Linked DNA regions of Homo sapiens: region 2 is linked to region 1. The links are contacts of gene promoters, found by promoter capture Hi-C in blood cells and fetal thymus (Javierre and others, 2016). All regions are on one chromosome and are shown on one strand. Each heading gives the region's core, a stretch centred on a gene start or on the middle of the fragment in contact. The rest is flanking DNA. Distances are from core to core; before and after follow the strand shown. Region 1 holds the start of DCAF4L1 (DDB1 and CUL4 associated factor 4 like 1). Region 2 overlaps ATP8A1 (ATPase phospholipid transporting 8A1).

Region 1 (6,464 bases), core at 2,650-5,149:
GAGGAATGTTGCCTCTTGTTCCTCTCTCTGTGACTCACAACAGTGATGCTAAAGTGAGGAAGTGGCTTCAGACATGAACAGAGGTGGGGGATGGGAAAAACGGTCAGTATTAAGAGGCATGTGGCATGTGTGAAGATTTAGGAATTTAAAACACACACACACATGGTGGAAGCTGGTAAGCCTTGCCTTTTATACACAGTTCTGAATTTTAACTCTGAGGAGAGGAGTTTTTTGGGGTATAATTCTCTGTCGTAAGAGGCTGCCCTATGTGTTGTAGGATGTTTAGCAGCATCTCCAGCCTCAACCCACTCGATGCCAGTAGTATCCAGTTGTGACAGCTAAAAATGTCTCCAGATATTGCCAACAGTTGTCCCAGGATGAGAACCACTGCTGCAAAGGTCACACGATGTGGTTGGGCAGGGTGAGTATGGGACCTTGAGCTGGGGTAAGACCTGAGGGGCAGAGTTGTGAGAGTTATGGGGAACGTTTCCAATTTCTTCTATGGAGAAATGGGAAGAGATGGTGGATGAAGGAAATGGAGTGGCATGGTGGGAATGGAGTATGTAAATTCCTAAAAGAGAAGGAAAGAATCCTAAAGGCTGAAATAATTTTTTAAGACAGTAGATAAAAAGTCATGTAGCATTTAAGGAGACTTATTTTTTCTAGAAGGTTGATTTATATGTTTATTGAGAGGGAAGGAAAGTTAGTTAATCAGAAAAGAAGGGGGAGGTGGGGATGGTAAATGAGTTAAAAAAAAAAAAAAGTTAAATAATGAATAGGACTGGCCAGGCGTGGTGGCTCATGCCTGTAATCCCAGCACTTTGGGAGGCCGAGGCAGGCGGATCACAAGGTCAGGAGTTCGAGACCAGTGTGTCCAATATGGTGAAACCCCATCTCTATTAAAAATACAAAAATTAGCCTGGCATGGTAGCGGGAGCCTGTAGTCCCAGCTACTCGGGAGGCTGAGGCAGGAGAATCACTTGAACCCAGGAAGCAGAGGTTACAATGAGCCGAGATCGCACGACTGCACTCCAGCCTGAGCAACAGAGCAAGACACACACACACACAAAAAAAAACACAAAACACAAAAAACGAATAGGACCTACTATTTGATAGCACAACGGGGTGATCATGGTCAATAGTAACTTAATTGTATGTTTTAAAATAACTTAAAGAGTGTAATTGGATTGTTTGTAACTCAAAGGATAAATGGTTAAGGGAATGGATACCCCATTTACCCTGATGTGCTTATTTCACATTACATGCCTGTATCAAAACATCTCGTGTACCCCATAAATATATACACCTACTATATATCCACGGGAATTAAAAATTGAAAAAAAGAAGTGGAAATAGATTGAAAGCTCTCCCTGTAGAGTAGAAGTTGGATAGATTTTGCAGAAATAACCTTAATCCCTTATTCCTCTCAGTGAAGGAGCCTATGAAATAAAGGAGAATTAAACATGTAGTTCTTATAATTTTCATTCCTTCATTCACTTATCTATATCCTATGTCCCATGTACTATATTATACACTAGACAGTAAGGATAGAAAGATGGATAAGAAACAATCCCTGTCTAAAGATGTCCACAGTATACTAGGGTAGACAAAGATGTGTAATCAGTTTGATTGAGAATCTCACCTCAAGAGGCATAAGCTTGAAAGTCTCATCATTTCTACACTTGGTATTTTGTCAGATTTCATTGCTTCAAAGTATCAGCCTCCTTAGTTATTAAAACTTTCATTCTAGGTATTAAGATTAGGTCCTACTGATTTAAAATATTAGTCTCATATTTATTTCAAAAACTTCCTCCATGCCTTCCAGAGCAGACTAGACCCGTAGTTCCAACTTTCTTTATACACACCCCTTTTTTTCCATGTGCCTGCTCTTCCGATGGTGGGGTCAGGAGGTTTAAGAAGGAAAACAGGCAATGCCTTAAATGTCTGACTGCCGCCATGTTGCTATCTGCTTTCTGTAGGTCATTGTTAGAATATATGGGGTTCCTAACAGCCCCACTGATAACTCAGTATCAAGCAGTCCTCTATGCTTTGATAGCCCTTTGCAAGACTTCTGCATCTGTCAGCTGACTTCCATTTGGCAGTGGTGAAACACATTCTTCTGATACATAGAAATCCCTTGTCCCATGTTATGTTCCATGGCAAGTGTGTGGGCCTCAATCTCCTGTGCTCTCTGTGATCCCAGCTCTGGGGCCTGTAGATTCCGACAGGATCCATAGTCCAGATATCACCGGATTTCTCTGTAGTCCCTACCAACTCTCCCCAGTCCTCCAAAATTCCTGGAAATTCATAGCGTAAGGGGAGTCAGCAAGCTTTGTGGCAAAGGAAACATCCAGATGGGGACTGGAGATATCAGCCTCCTCTTGAAGACACCCCAAAACTTTACTAGTATCATGTAATAGGTACTAATGTCCTGAACAGAACATGAAAGACACTAACCATTAATGAAACAAATGGACAATTTGGATAAATTCATAATTTATTTACTTATTTTTCTTTCTTTTTGAGACAGGGTCTTATTCTGTCTCCCAGCTGGGCTGGAGTGCAGTGGGGTGATCACTGCAGCCTCAACTTTCAGGGCTCAGGTGATTTTCCCTCCAAGACTCCTAGGCTCAAGTGATTTTCCCTCCCAGTCTCCTGAGTAGCTGGGTCTACAGGTGTGCACCATACCCCGCTAATTTTTGTATTTTATTTATTTATTTATTTTTTGAGACAGAGTCTTGCTCTGTTGCCCAGGCTAGAATGCAGTGGCGCGATCTCGGCTCACTGCAAGCTCCGCCTCCCGGGTTCACGCCATTCTCTTGCCTCAGCCTCCAGAGTAGCTGGGTCTACAGGCGCCCGCCACGATGCCCGGCTAATTTTTTTAATTGTTGGTAGAGACGGGGTTTCACCGTGTTAGCCGGGATGGTCTCAATCTCTTGACCTCGTGATCCGCCTGCCTGCGCCTCCCAAAGTGCTGGGATTACAGGCGTGAGCCACTGCGCCCGGCCTAATCTTTGTATTTTTTTAGAGACAAAGTTTCACCATGCCGCCCAGGCTGGTCTCTAACTGTATTTTAAAAATACAGGCGGCCGGGCGCAGTGGCTCACGCTTGTAATCCCGGAACTTTAGGAGGCTGAGGCGGGCCGATCATGAGGTCAGCAGATCGAGACCATCTGGCTAACACGGTGAAACCCTGTCTCTACTAAAAATACAAAAAAAATTAGCCAGGCGTGGTGGCGGGCGCCTGTAGTCCCAGCCACTTGGGAGGCTGAGGCAGGAGAATGGCGTGAACGTGGGAGGCAGAGCTTGCAGTGAACCGAGATCGCGCCACTGTACTCCAGCCTGGCCGACAGAGCGAGACTCCGTCTTAAAATAAAAAATAAAAAAATAAGAAATACAGGCAGGGCGCGTGGGCTCATGCTTGTAATCCCAGCACTTTGGGAGGCTGAGGCGGACAGGCTGCTTGAGCTCAAGAGTTCCAGACTAGCATCGGCAAAGCAGGGAGACCCCATCTTTACAAAAAAAGTAGCCTGGCATGGTGTTGTGAGCCCATAGTCCCAGCTAAGTAGGGCAGAGGTAGGAGAATCACTTGAGCCCAGGAGTTCCAGGCTGCAGTGAGCCGTGGTCGTGCCACTGGACTCCAGCCTGGGTGAAAGAGCAAGACCCTGTCTCAAAAAGAGAAAGGAAAAAATTTAACATCAAGAACTTCCTTTCATCAAGACACCACTGAGAGAATACGACAACCCACAGAGTAGGAAAAGAGATTTGTAATACACATCTGTAACAATGGACTTCCTCCTAGAATAGAGAGGATAAAAAGTAGCAACACTTCCGCTTGCACCCGGACGGAACTTCCTGTCACGGAAAAGAACATCCTGTCACGGAGAAGAACATCCTGCAGAATTTCCTGTCACGAGGAACATTCCGCAGGAGGAAATGGAGGCTGAAAGGCTGCGACTCCTCGAGGAAGAGGCCAAGCTGAAAAAGGTAGCCAGAATGGGATTTAATGCATCTTCCATGCTCCGAAAAAGCCAGCTAGGTTTCCTCAACGTCACCAGTTACTCCCGTTTAGCCAACGAGCTGCGTGTGAGCTGCATGGAGCGGAAAAAGGTCCAAATTCGGAGCTTGGATCCCTCCTCTTTGGCGAGCGACCGATTTAACTTCATTCTGGCGAGTACCAACAGCGACCAGCTCTTCGTAGTGAACCAGGTCGAAGTCGAAGGCTCCAAGTACGGCATCATCAGCCTGCGAACTCTGAAGATCCCTTCGTTCCACGTGTACGTGCTCAGAAACCTCTACGTCCCCAACCGGAAGGTGAAGTCCCTGTGCTGGGCCTCGCTGAACCAGTTGGACTCTCACGTTCTGCTGTGCTTCGAGGGAATCACAGATGCTCCAAGCTGTGCAGTGCTGCTCCCAGCGTCGCGGTTCTTAAGTGTTCACACAAGAGTTAACCAGCCTGGCATGCTCTGCAGTTTCCAGATCCCAGAGGCCTGGTCCTGTGCGTGGTCCCTCAACACCCGGGCATATCACTGCTTTAGTGCAGGCTTGTCTCAGCAGGTCCTGTTGACCAGCGTGGCGACGGGACACCAGCAGTCATTTGATACCAGCAGTGATGTCTTGGCCCAGCAGTTTGCTAGTACGGCTCCTTTGCTGTTTAATGGCTGTCGCTCCGGGGAGATCTTTGCCATTGATCTGCGTTGTAGAAATCGAGGCAAGGGGTGGAGGGCCACTCGCCTGTTCCATGACTCAGCAGTGACCTCTGTGCAAATCCTCCAAGAAGAGCAATGCCTGATGGCATCAGACATGACTGGAAAGATCAAGCTGTGGGATCTGAGGGCCACTAAATGTGTAAGGCAGTACGAAGGTCACGTGAATGAGTCCGCCTATCTGCCCCTGCATGTGCACGAGGAAGAGGGAATCGTGGTGGCAGTGGGCCAGGACTGCTACACGAGAATCTGGAGCCTCCATGATGCCCACCTGCTCAGAACCATCCCTTCCCCGTACTCTGCCTCCGAGGACGACATTCCCAGCGTGGCCTTCGCTTCTCGGCTCGGGGGCATCCGGGGAGCAGCACCAGGGCTGCTCATGGCTGTCCGGCAGGACCTTTATTGTTTCCCCTTCAGCTAATTCTGCAGGTGGCAGCGCGGCCGAATGTGGATTTGACTTAAGGAAGTTAAGAGTATCTTATTACCGTTTCTGTGAGAGCATTTTAAGAGACGTGTTGTATATAGATCGCATCCATCCGGCTGCCAGGGGTAAGGTGTTAAGAGTTTTATGTGGAGACGTTCTTGTAAAGTTATTTCAGTTAAACTGTGGACTTAACTTGAAAGTCCTTTTCATAAAAGGTACCTGTTTCCTCTTGTTGAATGCCTTAGAACAGTTAACCACCTCCCCAACCCTTTTTTTTTTTAAATAATTAAGACTTTTCTAAGGACTGAAGATTGGCAAAAACTAAAATAAATTAAAGCAGCTTCTTTCACTAGTAGCCCTTTAGAGAAGCATAATGATGGTACTGGTAAGACTGTTTGACTAATCATACAGGGTCCCAGGCATCTGCGCTTGAGGAAGCCAGTGGGAGTGGAGACAAGGGAGAGGTAATTTCTCAGAGTCTCTACAGAAATATTTAAGGCTGGAGTTTGGAATCATTAAATTTGGCCTTCTCAAACTCAATAGCAGATCTCTTAAGGTTCTCCTTTTATTGTTATCATCCATAGGCATTGGAAGGAAAGATGGATCTTTTTAAATACTAGAAGTTTTAAACAGTCCTTGATGTGCTTTTGTTGAGGTACCTTTCAGAATGTAAGGTACAGCAGCTCCGGTTTCTATTATGGTGACTTGAAGTTCAGATTCAAGGAATTGGCTTTGACTTTTTGTAATCTAGGAGCAGCAGTTTGTGAGAGATTTATTAAAAATGTTAAAGAGCCTGTTTTTCTACTAAGCAAGGAAGAAAAAAAACGTGTAATAAGGTTAGTTGCTACTTCTTAATAGCCAAAGCCTGGAAATGATCTGAATTTCGAAAATGCTAAAATTCGTGATATAATCATACAATCGGATACTGCATAATAATAGAAAATAAGGCACACTTGCTATGTGAAACAGTATGGACCAATCTCAACATGTTGACTGAAATTAGGTAGAAATGAGTACAAACTGTATGATTCAATTCTAAAGTTCAAAAGCAGTAAAAACTTGTCTATGGTGATTAAAGGTAGAGTAGTACGTACCTCTGTAGAAAGAAAGGATTTTTTTTTCTTTTTCTTTTTAGGATGTTTGAGAAGTGACATGGGGAAGCTTTAGGAATGCTGAGTTTTCTTTATCTTGACACTTGATACATACGTAATTCATATATCTATATGCTTCACGTTTTTATAGTTTACTGTATATATGTTATTCCTCAAAAAATAAAAATAAGCAATTAGGACACTATTGTAGTTAGGCAAGGGACAATGATGCCTTGGACCTGC
Region 2 (6,464 bases), core at 1,831-4,330, 490 kb after region 1:
GGTTGTCTGTTTACTCTGCTGACTGATCCTTTTGCTGTGCAGAAGCTCTTTAGAAATGCAAATCAAAACCACAATGCGATACCACCTTACTCCTGCAAGAATGGCCATAATAAAAAAATCAAAAAAGAATAGATGTTGGTGTGGATACGGTGATCAGGGAACACTTCTACACCGCTGGTGGGAATGTAAACTAGTATAATCACTATGGAAAACAGTGTGGAGATTCCTTAAAGAACTAAAAGTAGAACTACCATTTGATCCAGCAATCCCACTATGGGGTATCTACCCAGAGGAAAATAAGTCATTATACAAAAAAGCTACTGGGACATGCATGTTTATAGCAGCACAATTTGCAATTGCAAAAATATGGGACCAGCCCAAATGCCCATCAATCAACAAGCGGATAAAGAAACTGTGGTATGTGTGTATATATATGTATGTGTGTGTATATATTTTATATATACATATTTTATATATTTTATACACACACACACACACACACACAGACACACACATACACATATATGAATGAGATGGAATACTACTCAACCATAAAAGGAATGAATGAATGGCATTCATAGCAACCTGGATGGAACTGAAGACTATTATTGTAAGTGAAGTAACTCAGGAATGGACAAACATTGTATGTTCTTACTCATATGTGGGAGTTAAGCTGTGAGGATGAAGAGGCATAAGAATGATACAATGGACTTTGGGGACTCAGGGGAAAGGGTGGGAGGGGGACTACAAATTGGGTACAGTGTATACTGCTCGGGTGATGGGTACACAAAATCTCACAAATCACCATTGAAGAACTTATTCATGTAACCAAATACTACCTGTTCCCTCAAAACCTATGGAAATAAAAAATTAAAACAAAAGACATAATGGAAGCCTTTTCTTATGATTCTGAAACATCAGTTGGTTGCTAAACAAAGATGTCAGATTTAAGTGGAGATTCATACAAAATAAAATATACATTCTTAAAATATTTAACTCAAAATATAAATGTACAAACTGTGATGCAGGTCAAAGAACCTTACTTTGCATAGGGGTCTGCTGTTTGAAACTGCATGTTTTTGTAGCAGAAATCTCACTCAGGCATAGTCAATGGTTTGCCTCACTAAAATGGAGACCAGAATGTACTGATTCCTTTTACCCCAGTTTATAGTTAGTTTACTCCAAAATTTGACAGCAATATTTTTTAGCAACTCAAAAAGTCTTTTAGAGCATTATACCTGGATTTACTAGCAATAATTTTTACTCAGTTATTTGAATGAAGTTATGAGATATTTAATTAAATGATTATTTCAAGAAGTACAACAGGAATAAACATACTAGGGAACGAGCCCCACTTACAATGCACCAAGTCAATTCATGGAAGCCGAAGAGCATGTACACACCCAAGAGCCTCTGGGTGTGAGCATAGTGTGCTGTGAGTACCTGGCAGAAGGCTGTAGGGAAGGAATGTGGCTGAAAGGGATTCAGGTTTGTCAAGCTGAAGTCAGTAAAAAAGATCCACTATTTTTATAGCATCCATTTAAAAAATGGTTCCTTGCTACAAGGGGGTTACAATATAGCAAAACAAAATTATAAGACATTAAAAATGAATGTAGCATAAAGCTTTGATATGATTGCCCCTCTTTGATAATTTCAGAAATCAACATGGGCTTTAAGAGGCCTCCCTTGATAAGTTAGAATTTGACTTGGCCTTTGAAAGGAGAGGAGAGTTCACTTCAGGTAACAGAAATAGCACATAATAAATTTTAACTTCACACTCAAAATTCTCCAGAATATATTATTTTCTACTGCTGTGTCTCCACCTGTTAAAAGATTACTCTACTCAGAGTTTATTTACTTTCTTGATTGTCAGTACACTTGCTTCTAGATTCATACAATTTCCATGAGTCTAGAACTACCTTACCACACAACAACTTAATTCTTCCTATGTCTATAAAAAAAATCACATATCCATGGCTGAGAATATCTAAAACCTAAACAAATGCCAATAGTGACTCAACGTATAATTCTGAAACATCATAAAGGCACTGTTTTCTTCCCTGAGATTGTTTTATTTTAACCATTTGTGGGTCTGCATCCAGGATTTAAATTATTCACAGTTATCTTCTGTTCCACCGTTGCTTTTTCTTCTTTGGTAGAAGAGACTCCATGGAAAAAGACTACGTATCCAATGTGTACTGTAAACGTCCCTTTCTCTTCCCTGTGGCTCCACAAACAGAGGGTGGTCCTTTCTGATACAACCTAGACGTGCACTGAGTGCAATATGCTTTTCAGATATTATTTTGGCTGTAGTTTCTGCACATGTTATTCATTATTTTTCTTATTTTCTATGCAGTAACTCTCACTGCCCTGTGAACGTTAGATCAGAGCACTGGAAATTTTTACCATTTAAGCTAAGAAGTATATAGGTGGTCCATCTTACATGAAGCTTGTTTTGCACTCTTAATGGGATTAGCTAAATGAATCACCTTTCTAAATGAAATATGAAGAATATATGTACATATATATAATAGATGTATAATAAAGGATAATTTAAGGAATTTTTTATAGGTAGCCAAAAGGAATACAATAATTTATCCACTGGATTGTGTTTTGGGATTAATAACCTAAAAAATTCTTACATATACACAAAATTATACTGATAATATAATATGATCTCAAAGACTTATACTGGAAACTTAAAAATTACTATGAAGTTGCCTTTAGAAGGTAAATCTAGAAAACTTTTTAGAAGAATATGAAGGAACATAGTATTTTCTAGTTCTCCTGAAGTGTTTTATATAGTGACCAAGCCCAGTATTTACTAAATTTCTTTAACTTCCTCAAACTTTAAATTTGAGGTCTGCTCCAGGTGCCTATTTAGAGGTCAGAATCATTAGTGAGGGGATCTGCTGTGCTTTTCTTTGCAACAAACTTCCTAAGATTTCTCCTGTGAATATCAGTGTATTTCCAACTGACTCATATTTTGTTGACTATTTACAGAAATTACAAAAGGAGAGAAAAACGTAAACTAGAAGATCTTACTTGAATCCTTCTGAACTAAAATTTGGCAGGTTCATTTATAAAATTTCACATTGAGAAAAAATTAAGATACAGCAAAAAAAAACCTGATGTACAAAAACTACAAAATATTGTTAACTCCTCTAGAAGCTCACCATCAACTTGTTACTTGGAATGAAAACAGCAGCTTACATAGCAAGTCTTAAAAATGATACTTAGCAATATGGTACATAATGAAACATTCAACCACTTCTTACCTAGAAGTGCGCTATTCAAATGACTGATGAGTGAGAGCTCTCCTAGCCTCCAAAACCAACATCTGTTGATATACTGTGCAGTCATAGGCATTCAGGAGACCTTACAATATAGAGACTGAGTCTACAGAAATAAAATACAGATAGCCTTTCCATAGGACAAAAAAGGAAAGCAAATTTAAAAAAGATTTCCTTTCTGCAATGCATTTTAGATATAAAACCTCTCTTTTGTAGAATTTATGTGGTTATAGGTAAACGTACTGCCTTCTGCTTCAATGATTCAGATAAGTAGTTTAAATAGGGACCGTTTCTATTGATGGTGTGTATTTGATTATGCATGTATGTGCATGTGTGCACTAATTAGCAAATAGACCTATGAAAGGCACTAAAAAGAGAACTCCGCCTAGTATAGATATTTATTATGGTGTTCACACAAGAAAGCTTAGTTTATCTACAATATTGCTGTTCATTTTCTCTTCAGAAAATATCATCTAGTTATATTGAACCTAGCACTGTACTCAGCACAAGGCAGAATTAAAAATGGTAGCAAGCTCTTCCTAGGCTGGCGCTTAGCAAGGAGAAGGCCATGTTCATTTCAAGCACCAAGACTGTGAAGCCCAACAGCGAGACGCCAAACGAGTTAAGAGTCCGGCATCTTTCAGGCTCTTCTGGAGCTGGAGATAAACTCGGACCTCAAGGCTCAGCTCAGGAAGCTGAGTATTACAGCAGCCAAAGAGCCTAAGTTGGTGGTGTCCAGAAAGCTATCATAATCTTTGTTCCTGTTCCTCAACTGAAATCTTTCCAGAAAATCCAACTCTGGCTAGTACGTGAATTGGAGAAAAAGTTCAGTGGGAAGCATGCTGTCTTTATTGCTCAGAGGAGAATTCTGCCTAAGCCAGCTTGAAAAAGCCATACAAAAAATAAGCAAAAACATCCTAGGAGCTGTATATGACACAATTCTTGAGGACTTGATCTTCCCAAGTGAAATTGTGGGCAAGAGAATCTGTGTGAAACTGGATGACAGCCGGCTCATAAAGGTTCATTTGGACAAAGCATAGGAGAACAACATGGAAAGCAAGGCTGAAACTTTTTCTGGTGTCTATAAGCAGCTCACAGGCGAGGATGTTAATTTTGAATTCCCAGAGTTTCCATTGTAAACAAAAATGGCTAGTAAATTCACAGTTAAAAAAAAAAAAAGGTAGTGGAACCAAATAAATGGAAATGTTACAAGAAAGAGAAATTTGGCCAGGAGCAGTGGCTCACGCCTGTAATCCCAGCACTTTGGGAAGCCGAGGTGGGCGGATCACGAGGTCAGGAGTTCAAGACCAGTCGGGCCAACATACCTGTCTCTACTAAAAATACAAAAAAAAATTAGCTGAGTGTGGTGATGTGCGCCCATAATCCCAGCTACTCGGGATGCTAAGCCAGGAGAATTGCGTGAACCTGGGAGATGGAGGTTGCAGTTGCAGTGAGCTGAGATCGCGCCATCGCACTCCAGCTCAGGTGACAGTGCGAGACTGTCTCAAAAAAAAAAAAAAAAAGAGAGAAAAAGAAAAAAAAGAGCATGGTTGAGGCAGTTCCTAAAAACATTAATTTGGATTGACCAAAGTATGTTTTATATATATCTGAATATGATCTAGGAAAAGGACAATGAAAATGAAAATAAAAACACAGAGGGCCCCAAATAAAAGTGGTTTCAAAAATGACCCTGAGGTTTCAAATTTGGGTTACTGGGAGAATGAGGGTCTAAACGTAAATGGAAAAGGCAAGAAGAATATTGACAGCGGAAAAGTATCAGGGAAGTTCTAGATACTCAGAAGTTTAGATAGTAGTGGGATACTCTGGCAGACTCATTTAAGCATGCTGACTGAAAAGTTGGAATTGGACTTGGAAAAGAGTGTAGAGTTGGGAATGTGCCTCCAGGTGTCATTGATTCAAGTATTTACTTAAGTATTAAGTGATCCTTTAGTATGTGATTAAAGCTCTGCGGAAGAACACAAGGAGAATAAAGCAGATCTCAGGATCTTTCTTCTGCCCCCAAGAGTTATTAATTTAAGGACTTTTATTGAGGTACTGTCCCGGGAGTTAAATATTGACAGCCTATATGATAGTAGTCCCTCTCTGTACACCTGCTCTGAAGAGACAGAAATTTTTCCTGCATGGATCAACGCCATGCCACCTCTCTATTTAGGGAGCCTTGCCAATGGGACTGGTGTGCTCTCAACTGGGAAGCACTTCTATTCAAGAAGGCCTAGAGTGCTTCCCCTTTCAGCTCTACCCTGTTGTGAGCTTGGTCTCAGAGTGGCCTCCATTCCCTTCCCATTCCCAGTGTCTGACTGGAGCACACATGCCCTGTGATCTCTTTTCCTATGACTCTGGGGAGGTAAGGAAGGGATAAAGTTTTTTTATTTATTTAATTAAATTGATAAATTAATTTTTTGAGATGAGGTCTTGCTCTGTCGCCCAGGCTGGAATGCAGTGGCACAATCTTGGCTCACTGTAGCCTCAACCTCTTGGGCTCAAGTGATCCTCCTACCTCAGCCTCCCGAGTAGCTGGGACTAAAAATGTACGCCACCATGCATGGCTAATTTTTGTGTTTTTTTTTTTTTTGTAGAGATGGAGTCTCACTATGCTGCCCAGGCTGGTCTCGAACTCCTGGCCTCAAGCAATCCTTCCACCTCAGCCTCCCAAAGTGCTAGGATTACAGGTGTGAGCCATCATGCACAGCCCAGAGCTTGTTTAGGCTGGAAGAAAATCAGCTTGCTCTTCTCTGCCTCATGACCTTCCTATGTTGTGTGGATAAGTTTCTCCAAGGAACCTTCTCTCACCTTAAAACTACCTAGTGGAAGGTGGAACAATTGGTCGCACAGACTATTGACAGAAACTAAAATACAACTCTGAAGATGTCAGGAGTTAAAAAAGGAGGCCAGTAAAGTTCAGGGTCATAATTATCAACTACAAATTCAAGAGAAACCTTTGGGGCGACAGGAAGTGGTGAATACTTGGGAGAAGCTGAGCGGCATGGAGGAAAAGAGTGGCATGTGAGGGATAATGGAAGAACACACAGATGGGCAAGGTTTCTGGCTGCATTGTTCCCTGCCCATGGCACCCTGTTTGAGCTGACCAGCATGAGTGGGGTGAGACTGGGCTGGATGGAGCCTCACTCATTCCAACTGTAGAGTTTGGCT

What was found. Contacts are between HindIII fragments. The CHiCAGO score rates a contact against its expected background, and 5 or more counts as called.
Region 2: a fragment that was not itself captured here is called in contact with the fragment with the promoter of DCAF4L1 in region 1 in 1 of 17 cell types (total B cells); the score reaches 5.4 in total B cells.

The regions. Positions count from the first base shown.
Region 1 is chr4:41,977,857-41,984,320 of GRCh38, forward strand. DCAF4L1 (DDB1 and CUL4 associated factor 4 like 1) reads left to right here and starts at 3,900. Exons shown (of 1, transcript NM_001029955.4): 1 at 3,900-6,464. The coding sequence starts at 3,937. The coding sequence ends at 5,127. RefSeq lists enhancers at 3,631-4,830, 4,390-5,162. The HindIII fragment of the contact is 3,961 bases long and covers 2,329-6,289 here.
Region 2 is chr4:42,467,949-42,474,412 of GRCh38, forward strand. The region is part of intron 25 of ATP8A1 (ATPase phospholipid transporting 8A1); the gene reads right to left. It also overlaps the pseudogene RPS7P7. Among named protein-coding and RNA genes, the nearest start is that of SHISA3, 74 kb to the left of the region's middle. The HindIII fragment of the contact is 1,267 bases long and covers 2,448-3,714 here.